Linked DNA regions of Homo sapiens: regions 1, 3, 4, 5, 6 and 7 are each linked to region 2. The links are contacts of gene promoters, found by promoter capture Hi-C in blood cells and fetal thymus (Javierre and others, 2016). All regions are on one chromosome and are shown on one strand. Each heading gives the region's core, a stretch centred on a gene start or on the middle of the fragment in contact. The rest is flanking DNA. Distances are from core to core; before and after follow the strand shown.

What was found. The method cuts DNA at HindIII sites, captures the fragments that hold promoters and counts their contacts. A CHiCAGO score of 5 or more calls a contact.
Region 1: a contact is called between a fragment that was not itself captured here and the fragment with the promoter of CYB561D1 in region 2, in 5 of 17 cell types (M2 macrophages, M1 macrophages, megakaryocytes and 2 more). The highest score is 11.2, in M2 macrophages.
Region 3: a contact is called between a fragment that was not itself captured here and the fragment with the promoter of CYB561D1 in region 2, in 4 of 17 cell types (non-activated CD4 T cells, M1 macrophages, megakaryocytes and 1 more). The highest score is 6.3, in non-activated CD4 T cells.
Region 4: a fragment that was not itself captured here is called in contact with the fragment with the promoter of CYB561D1 in region 2 in 1 of 17 cell types (M2 macrophages); the score reaches 5.5 in M2 macrophages.
Region 5: a fragment that was not itself captured here is called in contact with the fragment with the promoter of CYB561D1 in region 2 in 2 of 17 cell types (total CD8 T cells and naive CD4 T cells); the score reaches 7.6 in total CD8 T cells.
Region 6: a fragment that was not itself captured here is called in contact with the fragment with the promoter of CYB561D1 in region 2 in 2 of 17 cell types (naive CD4 T cells and fetal thymus); the score reaches 5.3 in naive CD4 T cells.
Region 7: a fragment that was not itself captured here is called in contact with the fragment with the promoter of CYB561D1 in region 2 in 8 of 17 cell types (megakaryocytes, endothelial precursors, M2 macrophages and 5 more); the score reaches 8.8 in megakaryocytes.

Annotation. Positions count from the first base shown.
Region 1 is chr1:109,196,583-109,199,444 of GRCh38, reverse strand. It overlaps ELAPOR1 (endosome-lysosome associated apoptosis and autophagy regulator 1), which reads right to left. Exons shown (of 22, transcript NM_020775.5): 16 at 1,791-1,971; 17 at 1,370-1,466; 18 at 771-872. Among named protein-coding and RNA genes, the nearest start is that of SARS1, 16 kb to the left of the region's middle. RefSeq lists an enhancer at 909-2,108. The HindIII fragment of the contact is 6,896 bases long and covers 1-2,862 here.
Region 2 is chr1:109,492,501-109,495,371 of GRCh38, reverse strand. It overlaps CYB561D1 (cytochrome b561 family member D1), which reads right to left and starts at 1,278. Exons shown (of 3, transcript NM_182580.3): 1 at 1,085-1,278; 2 at 192-229. The coding sequence starts at 1,232. It overlaps ATXN7L2 (ataxin 7 like 2), which reads right to left. Exons shown (of 11, transcript NM_001350175.2): 11 at 2,638-2,786. The coding sequence ends at 2,772. RefSeq lists enhancers at 638-1,138, 1,128-1,207 and a silencer at 1,278-1,507. The HindIII fragment of the contact is 3,360 bases long and covers 1-1,689 here.
Region 3 is chr1:109,786,496-109,789,480 of GRCh38, reverse strand. No RefSeq gene overlaps it. Among named protein-coding and RNA genes, the nearest start is that of EPS8L3, 24 kb to the right of the region's middle. RefSeq lists enhancers at 867-1,750, 1,751-2,634. The HindIII fragment of the contact is 4,535 bases long and covers 1-2,985 here.
Region 4 is chr1:109,961,011-109,963,841 of GRCh38, reverse strand. No RefSeq gene overlaps it. Among named protein-coding and RNA genes, the nearest start is that of AHCYL1, 22 kb to the left of the region's middle. The HindIII fragment of the contact is 7,765 bases long and covers 1-2,831 here.
Region 5 is chr1:109,219,463-109,222,591 of GRCh38, reverse strand. The region is part of intron 1 of SARS1 (seryl-tRNA synthetase 1); the gene reads right to left. Among named protein-coding and RNA genes, the nearest start is that of SARS1, 7.1 kb to the right of the region's middle. The HindIII fragment of the contact is 2,644 bases long and covers 1-2,594 here.
Region 6 is chr1:109,090,540-109,093,508 of GRCh38, reverse strand. It overlaps TMEM167B (transmembrane protein 167B), which reads right to left and starts at 2,745. Exons shown (of 3, transcript NM_020141.4): 1 at 2,627-2,745; 2 at 488-619. The coding sequence starts at 2,636. It also overlaps the pseudogene NDUFB3P1. RefSeq lists an enhancer at 2,912-2,969. The HindIII fragment of the contact is 160 bases long and covers 1,198-1,357 here.
Region 7 is chr1:109,764,255-109,767,193 of GRCh38, reverse strand. The region is part of intron 1 of LOC124904258 (a long non-coding RNA gene); the gene reads right to left. Among named protein-coding and RNA genes, the nearest start is that of EPS8L3, 1.8 kb to the right of the region's middle. The HindIII fragment of the contact is 572 bases long and covers 1,013-1,584 here.

The DNA of each region.
Region 1 (2,862 bases), core at 216-2,715, 300 kb after region 2:
TATGGATACCTGTTATGTACTTTACTGTGATGTTTACAATGGCAAGAACAGGGATTTGACACTCAGACACCACTACTGGGTCAAGACGCCCTGCTTTGCTCCCCATCTCCCCAGTCAGTTTAGGCGCAGCATATCCAAAACGTCTTCCTCAAGACGCTAGTGCCCGTCAAGATGTTAGCTGCTGTTATGCGGGGAGGGGAGGGGGTGTCCTGTGGTCATATTCATTTAGAAATTTTTGATTTAGTTCACTCAGCTATTAACCTCAGAACTGGGTATTTTCGTTGCAGAGAGATTCCTAGGATCCCTAAACCTTTACTAATCCTCATAATAGCCAGAGATCATGAAACGTCCTAAAGTCTCCTTGTCTCATTTAATCCTCAAAACAACCCGCTGAGGGAATTTAGCATTATGCCCATTTTTACAGATATGGAAAAAAGAGGCCTAAAGAAGGTAAGAAATGCATCCATGATAACATAGCTGGTTAGTGGAGGAGATGATTCAACCTGGCTCTCAGCCGAGCTGTTGGTTACCATGCTACGCAGCTGCTGCCTTAATGGACCAGGAATATGAGAATAGCTTTCACTCTTCCTTCTACCCCATTCTTGCCATATGAAGACTGAGGGTCTGGGGCCATGACTGTGCCCCTAAGCACCCATTAATGGATCTCAAACTCTTTTCTTTTTTGCTCTTTTTCAGTAATCTCTGGATCTCAGGATGGAATGACTTCAAGGGAGATTTTGGCCTTTGTTACATCCCTTTGCAGGGCTTACCCTGGCAGCAGCAAACTTCCAGGGACAGTTTTCTGTGGACTGCACCTGACGCGGATGGTGGTTGATCTCCCAGAACTGCAGGACTGGGTCACATCATTGGACCTGCAGAGAAAGCCAGCCCCCATGAGGGAATGAGTCACTCAGCTGTGTTATTGGACAGCCACCAAGAGAAATCCGCATGGAGCAATTCCCTTGCTGGGGAAGTCAGGACTTGGGCTTTAGCCTGGCACACAGGGAGTGCACAGGCCTTGGTTTATACGTGGAAAGGGTGGGGATCAACAATATGTAGTCAAGGGGGAAATGCCCTGGTTTAGGAAAGTCATGGCTAGCATACACTGGAGCCTGCTTAGGCTGGAAGGGAAGTCCACTGCAGATCATCCAATATTTCTCCTTGCCTCTAGGGCAGATCTGCTCCAGTAATATCCAGGAAGCTGGGATCAGGAACTCCCAGCCCTTAGCTATCATGACTGGGCAGATCTGCTAGACCTCAGACATGTTCTGGCTTGATAAGCAGTAGGTGGCTAGAGAGGGAGGGATGCAGCAGAAATTATGGAGGAGTCCTAGGTTTCACTTGCATTAGCCTAGCCTCTCATCTTCACCTATAAAAGAAGATCACGTCCGGTATTCCCAAGGACTCCAGGTGGAAAAGTTCAGCTGGGGAGGTGATTCCATCCAGAGTCATATCTGTTGTCACCCCTGCCAAATTAGAGCTCCTAATTAGTTCTCACTAGTAGCATTAGCTGGCAACCACTTCAATTCTTCCAATACCTGTCAACATCCAACCTCACTTCATCTCATCACATCCCTGAGTGGCTTATGAAAGGGTGAAACAAGGGTTTGTCAGAGTCCCTGGGAGCACTTTGCACACAGAGTGGAATAGAAAACACAGGTCAAGAGGTTGGGCCCCTCATGTGGGGCCTTTTACCTCCCAGACTGGTAACCTCACACTCTCTTACACATACACACACACACACACACACACACACTCTCAAACAAGGCTGAGGCAGCGGAGTTACTCACCAATAAGTCGATCAGCAAGGCTGACAGGCTGTGAGGAAACCCCGGCCTTGTAGCCTGTCACCTCTGGGGGGATGATGACTGCCTGGCAGACGTAGGCTGTGATAGATTTGGAGAACCCTGACTCACCCTCAGGAATCCGGAGGTCAGTGACATTGTCGGTGCACACAGACATTTTCCTACCCTGGTTGGGGAGTGGGGAGGAAGAAGTAGGAAGAAGTGAGTGGTCACAGAGGAATTCCCAGAAGGGAATAGGGAAGGCTTTTTTACATCTAAATTTTCAGCGTTTCAATGGTATGTTGTAGGGGAATGATTCATCCCAGGTCTAATGACGAGACAGATTTGATTTTTTTGTTTTGTTTTGTCTTTTTGAGACAGAGTCTTGATCTATTGCCCGGGCTGGAGTGCAATGGTGCAATCATAGCTCACTAAAGCCTTGAACTCCTGGGCTCAAGTGATCCTCCTGCCTCAGCCTCCTAAGTAGCTGGAACCGCAGGTTAATTTTTTTTTTTTTTTTTCGTAAAGATAGGGCCTCTCTGTGTTGTTCAGGCTGGTCTTGAACTCCTGGGCTCAAGCAATCTTCCTGCCTCAGTCTCCCAGAGTGTTGGGATTACAGGGGTGAGCCACTGTGCCCAGTCAACATTTTCAATGTTATAAATTTTATTATAAATGGTGCTGGCTGGGTGCAGTGACTCACACCTGTAATCCCAGCACTTCGGAAGGCCGAGGCAGGTGGATCATGAGGTCAAGAGATTGAGACCATCCTGGCCAACGTGGTGAAACCCCGTCTTTACTAAAAACACAAAAATTAGCTGGACGTGCTGGCGCATGCCTGTAGTCCCAGCTACTCGGGAGGCTGAGGCAGGAGAATCGCTTCAACCTGGGAGGCGGAGGTTGCAGTGAGCAGAGATCGTGCCACTGCACTCTAGCCTGGCAAAAGAGTGAGACTCCACCTCAAAAAAAAAAAAAGTGCTAAATCTGGTGTCTCAGCCTTTTTTTTTTTTTCTAGATTGTAGGAAGTAGATGAGCTTGAAAACTGAAGAAAACCTTTACATTACAATAAAATAGAGTTCTT
Region 2 (2,871 bases), core at 29-2,528:
CCATCTGACAACTGCCTATGGCCCAGCCCTCCAGGTTTCCCAATCCCATAGGCTGCAGGGAAAGATGAGCCCTAGATGTTTCCTCCACCTGTCTTAGCCTTAGAAAGGCTGAGCTTTCTGAAAGCTGGGTGCTTCCCTGGGAGAATGAGGTGAGGAATACCCAAACAAATCAGATAGAAGCCTAAACTCACCGCCAAGGCCATGAATACAGGGTGCCAGGAGAAAAGACCTAAGAATCAAAGAGAACAGGCTGAGGGCTTGGTACCATTGTTCCTGCCCCTGTAGCTAGGTGGAACCCAAAGAATCTAGCCACAGGAGAAAAGTACCATCCCCAATCCTAATCGGGCACAGGAACTAAGGACAAAGTGGAGCAGCCAAGGAGCCCCAGGGTGAGCAACCAAGAGGGCCTCCTTATCCACACACATACAACAGTTTGGCCCGGGTTCCCCGTTCAGCACCTCTCAGCTGGCAGCCCAGTCCTCTGCCCCTTTTTTGTTTTTTGTTTTTTTTGGTTGTTGTTTTTTGTTTTTTTTTTGATACGGAGTCTCGCTCTGTCGCACAGGGTGGAGTGCAGTGGTGCAATCTCGGCTCACTGCAGCCTCCACCTCCCGGGTTCAAGCGATTCTCCTCCCTCAGCCTCCCAAGTAGCTGGAACTACAGGCGCGCGCCATCACGCCTGGCTAATTTTTGTATTCTTAGTAGAGACGGGGTTTCACCATGTTGGCCAGGCTGGTCTCGAACTCCTGACCTCAAGTGATCCACCCGCGTCGGCCTCCCAAAGTGCTGGGATTTCAGGCATGACCCACCGCGCCCGGCCTCCTTCACTTCTATCCTCCATCAGGGGACCTGTTTCTGAGGAAGTAGTTCGGTCTGTTCAATCGTCTGCCCTTCCCCCACAGCACCCAAAACCCCATTATTCCAGGATCCCTGGGGCCCCGCCCCACCAGGCCCTCAAAATCCCTCCACTGTTTCTGTCTCCCCTTTACTGCTGGGGTCCCTCCTCCAAGTCTCCCGGGGCTCCCAAGCGCTGCCCCTCCAGCATCTCCACTCCGCCCCCTTCCGCAACCCCGCCCCGCACACTCACTGGTTCCTGGCCGGGACAGCGCTGTCAGAAAGATGGTGAAGCCCAAAGCTACCAGGTGCGCCAAGATCCCACTGCCTCTCCGCAGCCAGCGGGTCAGTCTCGGCTCCCCAGCTGGAGCGGGAACCAGACCTACCTCCAGGGGCTGCATGGCCGTGGCCCGCGGGCCCGTACACTCCAGCTGCCCGAACACGTCTTCCGGGTTTGCGATCGCGGAGGCGGTGGCGGCTGCAGGAGAGGCTCCTCCCCGGGGACGCCGCCGGCAGTGCGGCGGAGTGGCCCACAGCGCCCTCTGGGGGCTGGGGGGGAAACGCGAGTGCCCCGGAGAGGCCCGCTCCCGCGAGAGCCCGGAGGCAGAAGGGGACCGAACAGTTCCCAGCCCACCTTCATTTGTATCTGTGTGTCTGTCTACAAGGGCCTAAATCCCAAGCAGCCTGTGGAAATTACTTTTGTGGCAAACGATTTCAGTGAAACCCCAAATCACACACTTGGTACGCTGAACCAAGACTGTGAAACAAGTGTTTGGAGCCGATTTCTAGTAGTACTGGATTTCCCTGGCTGTGCACTGTCTCCTGTCACCTCATTTTGTCTTGTTCAGGGAACAAGCTTCCTCCATGCCTAAGAGCAAGGAGAATAGGAAAGGACATCGCCAAAATATAGTGCCTTGAACCTGGTGGACCAAAGGAGGGAAATGCAAGTCTCCTCTCGCATCTGCACGGGAGTGGTCCCCAGCGAGATAAATGGAAAAACTAGGGCACTCCCAGCCCTGCCGCCTCCTCAGCAGCTGCTCAGCCCTGAGGAGCCAGGTGATCCTGAAGGACCAAGGCCTCCCACACTCCTGTGGCCTCCCACACCACCAGTTCTGCAAGTGATGATGCCTTTTCCCTTCCTGCCTCCAAAAAAGGGGTGGTTCAACCCAAGGAGGCCTCCCTGGGAAAGGTTCTACCCCTTCCTTAAAGGCAAACCCACAGGCAGGGAAGGAAGGCTGTCCAATAGAAAACAGGAATATCCCAACAGCAATGACCAACCCAGCTCAAGCTCCCTAAGTGGCTGAGAAAATGAGGCTGCAGGAACAGCTGAAGAAAAGCAGGCAATAATTCAGGGAGGGATGGATGCCTAGGGTTGCTGAAGGACCAGAAAAGGGTCACAAGCCAATTCCCAGACCCTCGGGGCAAGGATCCTAGAAAGAGCCAGAAGTGCAGCTCCCCCTCTCGAGTTTCTCTTCCCAATGGGACCATAGTCGTCTCTGGTGTCAAGACTCAGGAAGCCTTACTCATTCAGAGCCACACGCCTCATCATCCTGTCTGGAAAGACTACCCCAGTGACACAAACATTTTTCACACTATTGAAAATGACAAGATGACAATAATAATAATAATGAGCATAAGAGACTTTTGCAGGCAAGCTATGGGAGCTGGAGTCTGGCTGCCTATCATCTCAGCCTCCCAGGGTAGGGCTGGGGACAGTAAGGACACTCATTTTGTTATTTTTTTTCCTTCCTTTTCTATGTTTCTGTTTTTATATTTTCATAGCAGCAACAGAACAGGGAGACAGTCTTGAGGTATTTTAAAGAGCTTTTTTTCTTAAAAAAAAATAATATAAAGTTATAAAAAGCGGCAGCAGCCTGGGGCCCGGATCTGGAGGGGAGGAGGTGCTGGCGGCTCCGTTGCAGTGGGCAGGCACTTTCTCGTTAATGGGCTTTTGACTGCAGGAAGACAAGAGGCGAGAGAAAGGGTCAGGGTGGGGGCCTACCAGCTGTCCTACCCAGTGAACTGTGTGCACTACAGAGG
Region 3 (2,985 bases), core at 111-2,610, 290 kb before region 2:
GAGCAAAATGATCTCTCTGAGGGGGTGGGATCAGGCAGAGATGCTGGGATGGGCAGAGAAGAGGAAGTAGACCAGGGAAACGGCCAGGGGTGAGGCAGATAGGTCTGCAGATGGGCTGGGAGCAGCCTTGTAGGAGCAGAGGAAAGAGAGTACTGTTCTAGGGTGGCCTGAGAGTAAGGGGTAGTGAGGGAAGTGGCCACTAGGGTTGCTGCAGGACACCAGAGGCATCTCTGGGAAACCTGTGGAGCCTGCTGAATGCCTCCAGGTGCATGGTGGGGGCCGGGGAGCAGAGGCCTCATGGACGTAGCAGCCCCAAAAGGGCAGGTGCATGGGGGGTGGTTCCCAGGGGTGTTCAAAGGCAAAAATTAAAATGGTAACTCCCTCTGCGAAGAGACCCCTGGGCATGGTCCAAACTGATTCAACAGCAAGCATACTGCCCTTGACAATGTCCAGAGCCCAGGCCACCACCTAGAGGCCGCACCAGCACTCTCTGGGCCCATGTTGCTGCCCTATGCCAAGACGCAGGTCCCTGGAGGCACGAGCAGCCTGGAGCTGACCTGGGCTTCCTCAGGTGCAACAGGCACATGGAGTGTCTGAGAGGCACAGGAGCAACAGCCAGTGCCCCCTGCAGAGGACCACTGGGGTCACAGACTTCAGACCTGATGACCTGGGCTCAGATCCCAGCTCTGCACCTACCAGCCGTGTGACAAGGTGTCCTCTCTGAGCCTCAGTCACACACTGCCTTAACGGTTGGGCCTCATGGAGCTGTTTGTGAAGGTTAAATGGGAAGACATAAAGCACTTAGCCCAGAGCCAAGGACATGCTGAATAGGATAATGGTGGCCTCCTTTGGCGCTGTGCTGGTGCAGGTGTGCCGAGGAACTGGGCAGGGGTGACAGATACCTCTTCTAACCTAGTTCCTTTCCAAGAACCTAATTGGTGTCTCTCCCTCCCCCAGGCAATTGGAAGGAGGAGGCTGGGCCCCAGCCCCAGAATACGGGAGGTTTCTCACCGTGGTAGGGAAATTGCTGGGTTGGGGGTGTGGGCAACCACAGTGATCGTCTCTCTGCAGGACGGATGCGGCTTTGCTGACAGAGAGTCTGCGGCCTGGACATGCCAGCGGTGCAGGTCTGAGGTCAGCACTGGGGAGCCGGGCTGGGCCCCACCAGGGCGAGACATCTGCTTTCAATCAGCTGCCCTTCTGCCCGAGAAGGGGGTGAGGGCTGAGACCTCCCCCAAGCCCAACTTCTCATCACACAGAATGGACACTGAGGGCAAAGGAGGCAGGAGAAGCTCTAGAGACCCAGGTCAAAGAGATAGAGGTTTATTTTTGTTAAGCCACTTAAACTAAATCCTTCAATAGCTCTCTTTTGCAAGGCCATGCCCAGTCCGGCCAGTCAGCCCCCAGCCTCCCCCCGCGCCGCCCCAGCTCATGCTGCCTTGTCGCAAGCCTCTGGCTTGTCCGCCACTCGAGGGCTTTGCACTCACGCCCTGGGGGCCCCTGCCCTGCCCTGTGCAGGCTGACTTGTCATCCTTCAGCTGAAATCCCACTTACTCAGGAAAGGCTGTGGACGCATTTCTCCAACCCTGTTGACAATCTTGTTGAACACAGTTTGCTTTGTACCTATGTGTTCATCTGCATGGCTACTGAATGTCTGCCCCCCACCCCACTCTAGACTGTAAGCCCCATGCGGGCAGGAGCTAAGGCTGTCTTCCTCAGGACAATATCCCTAAAATTCAGAGCAGGGCCTGCCACAGAGTATGCGCTCAATAAATACTTGCCGAATGAATGAATGACTCATGCCTCTAAATATTTATAGCAGTTTCCTTCTGTAATCTTCAATGGTTTGAGTTCCACCAGATCCCTGCAGGATAATCAGTGCTTACGCCCATTTGACAGGCCCAGGTGAGTTAATGACCCTGGCTCCCAATCCATCCTGACTCACAGTATCAGGCTACCTTTGTCTAGGAGGAGGAGGAGGGACAAACTGGGAGAAGAGAGGCACGTGCCACAGAACCGGAGACCAGAGAGAGGGCTGGGTGAGAGACCAGCAAAGGGTGGGGGCACTGCCGGGGAGCCACATGCCAGCAGCCAGGCCCATCACACCCCATGTCAGCCTGTGTGGAATCACTCCCCATCCTGGAGAAAGTCCAGGAAGATGCCCACTGGGGATGTGCCCCAGCGACCACCCCCTATCCCTGCCAGTTCTCACATCCTTCTCCTGAAATGGCCATGCACTAAGCGGGCTTGCAGTCAACCACCCCAGGGTCAAACCAACGTGCTGCCTCTGACAGCTAAGCAATCTCAGACAGTTTAGTCAACTTTCTGAGCTTCAGTCTCCTCAAATGTGAAATAGTACCATAATAGAGCTGGCCTTAATGAGCAGTGGTGAAGCACCCATGAGCCCATGAAAGTTAAGCACACAGCAGGAAGAACTGGGTCTCTATGTTTCCACGGCCGCCATTGGCTCATGGGGACCATCCGTTGGGTATTGAGTGGTCTTGCTCTTGGCGGTAGACAGGGCTTATTCCCCTCCACCTGGGAGTGTCTTGAGGACAAGGACCTTTGTATCCCCCAGGGCTCCCAGGCCAGCCCAGACCCAGGTTGGGCTCTCAGCTAGATGCACGAACACATGAGTGTTTGTTTGGATCCAGAGTAAAAGCTCTGTGAATTTCCTGCTGATGTCAAGAGCAGGAGAGCTGGGGGGAGGAGATCTCTTCTGCCACACCCAGGCACTGAAGGATGGGTGTGCAGAGGGCAGAGCTGGGAGGAGCAATAAACGCCAGAGAAGAAGAGGACAGAGCATGACTGGAGCGGGCGCAAAACCCAGAAAAAAGGCTGTGTTGGAGTTCAGGAGGCCCTGCAGAGAGCAGATTTGGCCTGGGACCAAGAAGTGTAGCCTCAGAGCCTGGGAAGAAAGGACAGGAGGCCTGGGAAGGCATGGCAGAATTAGCCCAGACCTTGATCTGTGGGTTGGAAAGAGGC
Region 4 (2,831 bases), core at 246-2,745, 470 kb before region 2:
ATATCCTCAATCTGAGAGATTCCTCAGCCACGTCTAGTGTGCTAATGAGCCCATCAAAGGCATTCTTCCTTTTTGTTGCAGTGTTTTTTTATCTTTAGCATTATTAAAATTCTTTCTTAGAATCTCCATCCCTCTGCTTACCCATTTGTTCTTGTATGTCGTCTACTATTTCCATTACAGGCCTTAATATATTAATCATAGTTGTTTTAAAATCCTGGTCTGATAATTCCAACATCCCTGCTATACCTGAGCTTGGTTATAATGCTTGCTCTGTCTTTTTAAACTATGTTTTTTGACTTTCAGTATGTCTTACACTTTTTTTTGTTGCACACCAGATACAATGTACTGGGTAAAAGGAACTCTGGCAAACAGTCCTTAGTGGTGTGGAGTTAAGACGTAGGGAGAGGATAAGCATTCTATATAATGAGGTCTCAGTTTTTTAGTAAGCCTGTGCCCCTGGGCTGTAAACTTCACAGTGCTTCTCAATATCCACCTCAACTTGCAATGTGGGACACGATGGCTGCAGTGGGCTGGAGTTGGGTATTTCTCTTCCCCCCAGTTGGTTTTAGGCGCTGATAAAACCCCATTAGGTTAGGCTCTGGTAAAATCGTTTCCCTTGAAGGCAGACCTTGTCCAGAAGAACAGAATGCTCTGGCATATTTCAAAATGGTTACTTTTCCCTAGAAGTATAAAGGGATTTTTCTCTAGTACTCTCTGTGAGAACCTGGTAGAGCTCATGGAGCTAAACCTCACAAAAAACTTGTGAGGCCTCCCTCTGACTGGGACCCCCTGGAGTTTTTATTTCTCAGACTTGTCCACAATGGAGCCTCTAGCAATTTATCAATTACAGTTTAAGTTGTTCTACCCTAATACTGGTTCCCACAGAAGTTTCTGCTCATGGGTTTCTGCCTTGGTTAAGTTGTAATTCTCTGTATCTGTCTCTCTAATTTTAGAGGCAGTGATTTGTCCCGTGACCTCACTTCTCTGAAGGATCTAAGAAGAGCTGTTGATTTTTCAGTTGTTCTTAAAATTTTTTAAATAAAAGAATGAGGAGTTATAAATGAGGAACAGAGTATAAGGAATAATAAAATTTTTCCAAATGTTAGCAAGTTATCTCCACATGGTTATCATCAACGCATCAAATTCAATATATTCAGAATCCCTTTAATTGACTTTGCCTCTTAGGTTCTGGATTTTCAGTCTGGTGCCACCTTTCTGTTGGTCATTCATGTTTGAAACTTTGGGTCATCTTTGACCATTCTCTCTATCTAAAGATTTCTCAATTACCATGTCATGTGTGCTATGCAATTGTAACTTAGTTGTACATCCGTTTTCCTGTCTTTTTCCCCCTGCCCTCCCCTAGTCCATCACCACTTGTCAGGACTTTTGAAATTGCTTCCTAATACTTCCCTGTCTTAAGAGTCAACTTTGGTGGCAGATCAACCTGAGATTAAATCCTAGCTCTGCCACGTATAGCTCTTTGATCTTTGGTATAAAATACTTAACCTCTTTGAACCTTGGGCAGTGCTATAGTTTCAGTATTGGTCCCCTCCAAAACTCGTGTTGAAATTTAACCCCCACTGTGGCAGTATTGAGAGGTAGGGCCTTTAAGAGGTGATTGGATCTTGAAGGCAGAACTGTCAGGTGTGTGGTGGGGCCTGCAAGTAGTTGCCTGCAGCTCCTCTGCCCTCTTCATTTCACCTACTTTTTTTTTTTTTCGGTGGGGTCTTACTCTGTCGCCCAGGCTGGAGTGCAGTGGCGTGATCTTGGCTCACTGCAACCTCCACCTCTGGGTTCAAGCGATTCTCCTGTCTCAGCCTCCCGAGTGGCTGGGATTACAGGAGGCTGCCACTATGCCTAGCTGATTTTTGTATTTTTAGTAGAGATGGGGTTTCATCATGTTGGCCAGGCTGGTCTCAAACTCCTGACCTCCGGTGATCCACCTGCCTTGGCCTCCCAAAGTGCTGGGATTACAGGTGTGAGCCACCGTGCCTGGCCATTTCACCGACTTTGTGAACTTTTCTTCTCCATTTCCCCCCATCTGTTTGCCAGAGGGGTGGGACTGGAAACAGAACAGCTGTGGCTGCTTTGTCTCTCCCCTCCGTGGTGACTTATGGCCTGAGTGGTGACTTACAGGAACCTGGCCACCTAGGTGCTATGCGCCCTCTTAACCTTTGAACTGGAACTGCTGGCTCACACAAGGTTTTGAACAGCTGCAGCAAAAATCCTACAGAAAAGCTGGATTCCTTTGCCTTATGTGGAAACAGCAAGGCCCTGCCAGGTGCTCACCACTGGTCCTGGCAGAAGTGGCTGCTGCTGAGAGTGACCTTCCAAATCCTTGGTGGAACTCAGCACTACAGGCTCTTAAATAAAAACCCTTTAGACACAGAAAAAAGAAAAAAAAAAAACAAAAAAAACTCTCAAACATTTGATGTGAACAGTGCCCTCATTTGTGTATTAATTCATTCATGGATTAATGGATTAAATGGTTAATTAATTAGTTAATTAGCTTGCTCAGCCTCTCACCATGGGGTGCCCCGAACTACCTGGGGACTCCCTACCAGCAAGAAGACTCGCCAGATGCAGCCCCTCAGCCTGGGACTTCTTAGCCTCCATCACTGTAAGAAATAAACTTCTTTAGAAGTTAGTCAGTTTCAGGTATTCTGTTATAAGCAATAGCAAACAGACCAATATAGACATCACCTATAAAACTGAGGTAATAATACTCAATTTACAGGATGATTGTGAGGGTTGGAATACATTATGGGCCAGACACTGAGTCTTAAATGCATTAATTATTACTTTCATTAAATGAGAAAATGTATGCAAAG
Region 5 (3,129 bases), core at 23-2,522, 270 kb after region 2:
ATTTTCTCATTCACTTATTCACATTGATAAAACTATAGAGATGGATAATAGATTAGTGGTTGCTAGGGGTGAGATGGAGGGCAAAGGGAGTAGACTACAAAGAGATAGCAAGAAGGATCTTTGTGGTGATGAAACAGTTCTGTATCTTGAGCATGGCAGTGGTTATACAAATTTACACATGGTAAGATTGCACAGAACTACACACACACATGTGTGCAAAACTGGCAAAATCTGAATAAGGTTTGTGGATTGTAGCAATGTCAATTTCTTGGTTTTAATATTGTACTAGAGTTATATAAGATGTTATCATTGGGGAAAACGGGACCTTTCTACTATTTTTCCAACTTCCTGTAAATCTATAATCGTTTTGAGATTCCCTCCTATTTGCAAGGCACCAAGGTAGGTATTGGGAGTATAAAAGAAAATAAGGCCAGGTGTGGTGGCTCATGCCTGTAATTCCAGCACTTTGGGAGGCTGAAGTGGGTGGGTCGCTTGAGCCCAGGAATTCGAGACCAGCCTGGGCAACGTGGCAAAACCCTGTCTCTACAAAAAAAAAAAAAAAAAAAAAAAAAAAAAAAAAATATATATATATATATATATATATATATATATATATATATACACACACACAAAAAAATTAGCTGAGCATGGTGGTGTGTGCCTGTACTCCCAGCTACTTGGGAGGCAGAGACTGCAGTGAGCCAAGATCATTCCACTGCACTCCAGGCTAGGTGACAGAACAAGACTCTATCTCAAAAGAGAAAAAGAAAAGAAACAAAAAGAAAATAAAACAAAACCAAATATTGTAACAATGCTGAATGTTTCAATCAATGAATATAGTATATCCCTTCATTGTTTTTAATTTCTCTCAGCAATGTTTTGTAGTTTTCAGTATATGAGTCTTAAATGTTATTTATTAGGTATATCTCTATGCACCTGGTGCTTCTAAACTGTTACTTGTATATAGAAGTACCTTTGATTCTGTGTATTGTATCCAGTTATTTTGTTAAAGTTATTTAATTGTAATAGTTCAGATTCTGCATACACAATCAAGTGATCTGCAAATAATGACAGTTTCTTCCATTCCAATCTTTTATTTTTGTTTCTTGCCTTCTTCATACTGCCTGGAACCTTTGGCATGATGTTGATTAGAAGAGGTGATAAGAGACATACTTGTCTTGTTCCTAACCTCAAGGGGGAAAGCATTCGATATTTCATCATTAAGAAAAATGTGGCCGGACGCAGTGGCTCACACCTGTAATACCAGCACTTTGGGAGGCCGAGGCGGGCGGATCATGAGATCAAGAGATCGAGACCATCCTGGCCAACATGGTGAAATCCTGTTTCTACTAAAAATACAAAAATTAGCTGGGCGTGGTGGCACGCACCTGTAGTCCCAGCTACTCAGGAGGCTGAGGCAGGAGAATCGCTTGAACCTGGGAGGTGGAGGTTGCAGTGAGCTGAGGTCACGCCACTGCATTCCAGCCTGGTAACAGAATGAGACTCTGTCTCAAGAAAAAAAAAAAAAAAGAGAAGAAAAGAAAAATTAGCTATGGGTTTTTCTGTAAGTATCTACTATCAGATTAAGGAAGCTCCCTTCTATTCTCAGTTTATTGCATTTTTACCATGAGCAATTGACTCTCCACATTAAAAAAAATTTTGATCTATCTCACATAATACACCAAAATTAATATTAAATATATCTTATACCTAAATGTAAAAGGTAAAGAAATAAAATGTCTACAAAAAAACTGGAGAATCTCTTCTGAAGGTTAAGACATAACATGATTTTCAAAACAGAATACAAATTCTGTGATTTATCTATTGTGTTTTGGAAACACAATAGACAAATCACAGAAGAAAAGTCAATAAATTAGACTTCATTAAAATTAGGAACTTCTATTCATCACAAGACTGAAAGAATGAAAAGGCAAGCCACAGAATGGGAGAGGAGATCTGTGGTATCTGTATCTCACAGGTATTCTTCTATCCACACGATATAAATAATTCCTACAAACCACTAAGAAAAGGACAAATAAAAATTGGTCAAAAGGCTTGAACAGATACTTCTCAAAATAGGCTATCCAAATGCCATCAACTTATGAAAAAGCGCTCAGTATCTTTAGTCACCAAAAAAATGCAAATTAAAATAACAATGAGACACCACTATATATCTACCAGAATGGCTAAATTAAAAGGACTGCCAATGTCAAGTACTGGCAAGAATGCCAAGCAACTGGAACTCTTAGATATTGCTGGTGGGAATATCAATCATTACAACCACTTTGGAAAACTACTTGGTATTATCTACTAAATCTAAACATGTGCCCACCCTATGATCCAGCAATTCTACTCCTTGGTACATACCCAACAGAAATGAGTGTTAATGTCTACCAAAAGACACACATAAGAATGTACATATGTTCTTATCACAAAATATAAGTATTTGAGGTGATGGATATGTTAATTAGCTGCTTTTATTATTCCACATTGTATTCATAAATCATAACATTACATTGTACCCTATAAATATATACAACTATAATCTGTTAATTGCCAATCAAACATTTTTTAAAAAAGAGTCTCTAGAAGCTTATTCATAATGCCCTCAACCGGTAACAACCCAGTTTATCCAAATGTCATGCAGTAAATATGCTAGTAGAATTGATTGGCATATTTACATAATGGAGTATTATATAGCAATGAAAAGAACCAACTACTGCTACATGTTAATAACATGGATGAATCTTACAGACATAATCTTGAAAGAAAGAAGCCATGCCGGGCGCGGTGGCTCATGCCTGTAATCCCAGCATTTTGGGAGGCCAAGGCGGGTGGATCACAAGGTCAGGAGATCAAGACCATCCTGGCTAACATGGTGAAACCCCAGCTCTAATAAAATACAAAAAAAATTAGCCAGGCATGGTGGTGGGTGCCTGTCATCCCAGCTACTCGGGAGGCTGAGGCAGGAGAATGGTGTGAGCCCGGGAGGCGGAGGTTGCAGTGAGCTGAGATCACGCCACTGCACACCAGCCTGGGTGACTGAGCAAGAATCTGTCTCAAAAAAAAAAAAGAAAGAAGCCATATGCAAAAGTATATACTACATAAGTCCATTTATATGTAGTTCAA
Region 6 (2,969 bases), core at 28-2,527, 400 kb after region 2:
TAATTTTTTTTTTTTTTGAGACAGGGTCTCACCCTGTCACCTGGGCTGGAGTGCAGTGGCTCCACCATGGCTCACTGCAGCCTCAACCTCCTAGGCTCAAGCAATCCTCCCACCTCAGTCTCCTGAGTAACTGGGACTACAGGCACGTGCCACCATACCTGGCTAATTTTTGTATATTTTGTAGAAATGGGGTCTCACTGTGTTGCCCGGGCTGATCTACAACTCCTGGACACAAGCAATCCTCCTGCCTTGGCCCCCCAAAGTGCTGAGATTATAGGCATGAGCCATCACACCCAGCAAATTTTAACTTTTACCTCTTCCCTCAACTTTGGAGAATGATTAATTTTCCAGACTCTCAGACCCAATCGGAGGGATTTTTTTCTAAAAATGAAACCAAATATAATCCCAGCTCACTGTACTCCCTACTTTGTAGCTCCACACTGTCCAGAGATGGCAGTCTCTTCTCCCTGTCCAGACATGGCCTCACCTTTGTAAAACACACCCCAAACACCCTTCTTCTCTGATAGCAGCCAGGTTTTGAGACGAGGTACTTTCTTGAAGTAGGCACAGGTGCAAACAAAGAGCAAACCAAACACCAGAATCCCATCCAAGGAGTACACTGTTAAATAAAGAAGAAAAGAAAACCTTAGGTACTGATCTAGCGTCGGACCTGTGATCCCGCCTGAGAACTCTAAGGAAGATAGTGTGTGACATAATAACAAAATAATAACCTCAACAGGCAGTACTGACACTTGACAAGGGGGAGCCAGGATCCTGGGACTAACACGATTATTTTACTGTTCCCAAAAATTGCTTGTAGGAGGAAGGGGGATCAATTGAGCCCAGGAGTTCGAGGCTGCAATGAACTACGATCATGCCACTGCACTGTAGCCTGAGCAACAGAGTGAGACCCCAACTCAAAAAAAAATTTTTTTTTTTACATCCCCTTTACTAAAATGTCACTGGTCCTTCCCCTCACCTTTCAAGAAGTAGAAATCCTGGGCAGAAATTAGCATCCCAGGAATGACTAGTGTTGGCAATAGATTGAGACATATGAATCCTTAGAGACTCAGCACAGAGAATTTAACATGTTCTTGTTATAAATCACTCATATGATAAAGGAGAGCTAGATATGTAGCCAAAACTGTCAGATGTGCAACTGTTGGTGAAGAATATGTTAAGGCAAAAAATTAAGCTTAATGAAAGTTGCAAGAGTAAGAATCCACATGACTACAATTTTCCTATCATTATCTTACACTTTATGGATGATACTCTTAACAAACCGAATTTCTGCCAGAATAATAACAGATTTTTCTAAAACAAAGAAAAAGTATCTAAGGCTTCAACATAGAAAGCTTTAACTTCTTAGCTCTGTTTCTTAAATACATAAACCAAGCTTATTTCTTGTACAGGGAAGCACAATGAATCACCTAATTGCAAAAAACAAGAAGATATTGGACCACAAAATGGGGGAAGAATGACTAAAATTTATTCAGCAACTACCGTGTCAAACTGCTGTCTTACTTCCTGGTTCAGATTCTGTCTTCCTCTGGGTAAATTCCCTTTTCTTACTGTGCCTAGTATCCTGAGACCTCTGACTTCCCAGGAAGCTCCAAATGAATATTATATATAACCAGTGTCTGCCAGTTCTAGATCACACTACCTCTCTTCCTCCAGTAAAACTGTCTCACAGCTAAGCTGTCACTAAGAAAGGGTCCAGCAAATTAATACATACACTAAGGTTTTCTGAGGAACTATACCTTCACGTGCTACCCCTTTTCTCTCATAAGTTTCTGCAGACAATGCCAAAATTCACAAGGAGGTTAAATTCGAGTCTTCAGTGCCAGGTCTATGGACAAAGTACTTTTGAGAAATGCTTTCCGGAGCCCCTCAAATCATCGTAATGCCTAAAAGGCTTTCTCTTCTCCTTTCCTGTAAGGTTGACACTAAAAATCATGAAGGCCCTCCTTCCTGTCCTCCTCTGGAATTCAGAATTCATAAAGTGTTTGAAGAGGCCTGGAAAATTAGGTCAGATAAACTGCCTCATCATCTAGAAGAGGCAGTGTCTAAATCCACCCTTTGCAACACTAGTCAGGGTCTCCACGTGGGATCACCCCGCCAGGACTTTAAAATCAGAAATCTTTCCGGTATTTTTCCGTAAGAAGAAGCTTTTGTGGGGTCTACATTCACCAGCAACCCCAAAAGTGTGGGACTTGATATTCTATGTCATTTATTGGCCCTCTCAACAAAACTACGGTCCGAAAGCATGAGAACGCAGGGAGCTGGGAGGAGGAGCCTCTCTCTTCCCCGGGTTTAAATAGCAGTAGTACCTCTGGGACTGACCTCTCCAAGGGCCAGAAAGAACTAAGAAAAAGAAAAGGGAAAGCAAAGCATAGGGATAGATAACTCGAGGTGTGAGCATAAGAGGCACTGGGGGTCCTAGATGAATATGGGAAGGGGGAACCCGTAGAGGAGTATAGGGGTACAGAAGTTAGGGGCGTCGAGAGGCCAAGGGGGGCCGGGCTGGGAGGGGGCGGGGAGAACGGCCACGTCAGTCCCGGCCCCGCCCGCCACGTTTTCCCTTCGTCCTTCACTCCCACCCTCCGCTCAGGGCATCAGTTCTCACCGTTCGTCATGGCGGCTGGCCCTGGACCTGGGTAGGGGGTCCGGGTTCAGTGGTAATAGCGGCGGAGATGGGGGAGCGCCCGCTTGACACTTCCCGATCCGGGCCGAGGTGACTGGAAGAAGCCGTAGTACGCAGGAGCAAGGGCCGAGAGGCGAGCGCCGAACGCTATCAGGAGTGGCTAGCCGATTGTCGAGCTCGGGAAACTGCGTGTTTACGTAGGGTAAGAAGAACGCTATCTCGAAGGCTTCGTACTTGGCCGTGGTAACTAAGTCTTTTCTGCGTGCCCCTGCGGGCGTAGGGCTGGGGCTGGCCCGCGTCAGTGTGTTTGAAAAGGTAAAGGCTT
Region 7 (2,939 bases), core at 49-2,548, 270 kb before region 2:
CACAGGGCGGTTTTCTCCTATCTCAGAATAGAACGAACAGTCGGCTTTACACCGAGACATTCTGTTCCCAGGGACATGCGGGAAACAGAGGCCTTCCTCATCTCAACTGCAAAGAGGCCTTCCTCTTTTACTAATCCTCCTCAGCACAGACCCTTTACGGGCGTCGGGCTGAGGGATGGTCAGGTCTTTCCCTTCCCATGAGGCCATATCTCAGGCTGTCTCAGTGGGGGGAAGCCTTGGACTATACCCACGCTCTCTTGGGCAGAGGTCCCTGCGGCTTTCCACAGAGCATCGTGTCCCTGGTTAACAGAGAATGGAGAATGGCGATGACTTTTACCAAGCATACTGTCTGCAAACATATTGTTAACAAGGCACATCCTGCACAGCCCTAGATCCCTTAAACCTTGATTCAATATAGCACATGTTTCTGTGAGCACAGGGTTGGGGGCTAAAGTTACAGATTAACAGCATCTCAAAGCAGAACAATTTTTCTTTGTACAGATCAAAATGGAGTTTCTTTTGTCTTCCTTTTCTGCATAGACACAGTAACAGTCTGATCTCTCTTTCTTTTCCCCACAGGGACCCCAGTCATGGGGGTATCCCCCTCAATGTGATACATGCAGTAACAGAGGGACACATGTACAACGTGTCTGGAAGCCACGGGCCAGAGCCCCACCAGCCCTGGGCAGTGGGAAGGCTTCTGAAGGAGGGCTACTGGAGACATAAAGCCATAGCGTGTCCACAGGGCATGCCAGACAGAGAACAGCAGCCAGCCTGGTACCAGGGTGTGACCCTTCAAGGAATTACAAGCCATGCCCCAAGCCGAGTATAAAGTACAAGGGGCAGGGAGTTGGGGGGAAGATAAGGCCAGACTCAGAAGCAGGAGACTTGAGTTCATCAAGGACTTCAACTGCCCTGAGAAGGAGTTTAGGTTTTGTCCCGTGAGCAGCGGGAAGTCACTGAGGGGTTTTAGGCAGAGGAGTGGACAATCAAATCTCCAGCTAAGAAAGCTTCCCTACCAGCAACCAGTAAGGATCAATGAGAACAAGAGTGAAGCGAGGGCGTGGGTGAGGAGACGGCCGCAGGGTCGAAGACAGGAGGTGTAATGGGGTCTGAGGAAGACAGTCGCAGTGGGGTGGAGAGGAAGGGGGCCACTTAGGACTTGCCACAGAGCTGGGACTGCAGGAAGGGTAGTCCATTGGGTGTGAGGATTGAGGGAGGACTCCCCTCCCTGCTGGAACACACGATTGGGAGCTGATGCCTTCCCTGAGATGGGAGCATGAGAGGGGAGATGGTTTGCTGAGAAATAATGAACTCAGCTTGAATTCCAAGGTGTCTGTAAGCCCTCCAGAGGGATCCTAGCACCTCTCACAGTGCCTAGCAGGCAGGAAGCCCTCAATTCTACAGGAAGTTGTGGAATGAATGAACGAATGTGGTCCCACAGCCTTTTAACCCCACAATTTCAAGGACATGCCCTTCGAGTCCTGCTTCCTTCCCCTCCAACCTAAGTCCCAGCTCCTGGTGCCTCAGCCGAACTCCCTTGCAGAAGAGCTGCTGTGGCACCCGGAGCTTTGTGCAGAAGCTTCAGTTATGGCCCCAAGTCCCCAGGTATGGGAAGCTTGGCCTCTCCCTCTTTCCTGATTTCCCTCTTCCCTCAGGGGGCTCCACAGAAGCAGATGTCCCCAATACCTGGCCCCAAGCCCCAGACCCACCAAGGCCACAAAGGCTTTATGTCTGAGGAGACACACACTGCTCCCAGGGGCACCCCTAAAGGGCACTGCAGAGGGCAAGGTGCTGGGAATGCCACTCATTGTTTCTCTGCCCCTGCCCACCTTGCCCCAGAGCCCCCCCAGGAGTCCCTGCTGTGCTCACACTGACTTGGGGAGGGTCCTATGGGAAGGACGGGCCTGGCCTGAGCTGGGCAGAAATGAGGTGTTGCCTGAGCCCCAAGCCAGGGCTGGGGTGAAATATGACTGTGGCCTTCACGGAGTTGGGGGAGGCAACGAGGGGACAGGCTGTGCTATCCCAAAAGAAGCTGAAGGGCCACAAGATGGGGACCCAGGGGAAAGAACCCCAGGACTGCTTCCCATGGGGCTGTGGCTGGGTGCTGGCCTCACAGGCACCTGATCCCTGGGCCCCAGCAGCTGGCTGTCCACTGGACTCTCCCAGGGACACACACAGCCCAGACAGGGAAGGCACCTCCCTAGGATCTGACGCATGGACTCCAGGCCATCCAGGGCAGCGTTGGTTGGGTGGTGATGGGAGAGAAGGCTGAGATATCCTGGGATAGTTCCAGGGAAGCTAAAGATGGGAGTGCTCCAGCCCTCAGACTCCACAGGACACTCCATCACAGGGCCCAGCACCGGGACCCTGCATTCTGCCCACGAGGGTCCGAGGCTCACTGGCACTCCCCCGCCCCCGCCTCCCCTCCTGCCCTGCTCCCTGGTTTCTGTTTATACCTGGCCTTGTTGGTTAGACTGTGAGTTCCCAGAGGGCAGGGGAGCCTGGCCCACTCTGAGTGCCAAGAAAGATTTTTCGATACCATGGAGTGCAGGAAGTGGGTAGGTTTATGACTAGAGATAGATGCAGGCCTCCGTTTTCCATCTTTGCTGAAGCTGGCCAGGCGTCCACCAGGGGTCTGGGCACAAGATGGGGTACAGAAGGAAAGAGAGTGGAAGAGCGAGAAAGGGCTGGTAAGGGGGCTCCTGCTGGAAGGGACAACAGTAGGGACAGAATGAGGGCCCTGCCAGAGGGAATCTCAGCGCTCCATGTAATGCCCCAGGGGCCTCAGTCCCCATCTTCTGTGACAAGATCCATGTCCTGCTCACAGGCACCACCCAGGTACACAGGATCACACACCTATGGGTGCCACCCACGCACAGGCATGGCACACACGCCAGCCCACAGCTTCCCCCAAGCCTGGAGTCCACCTCCAGCCG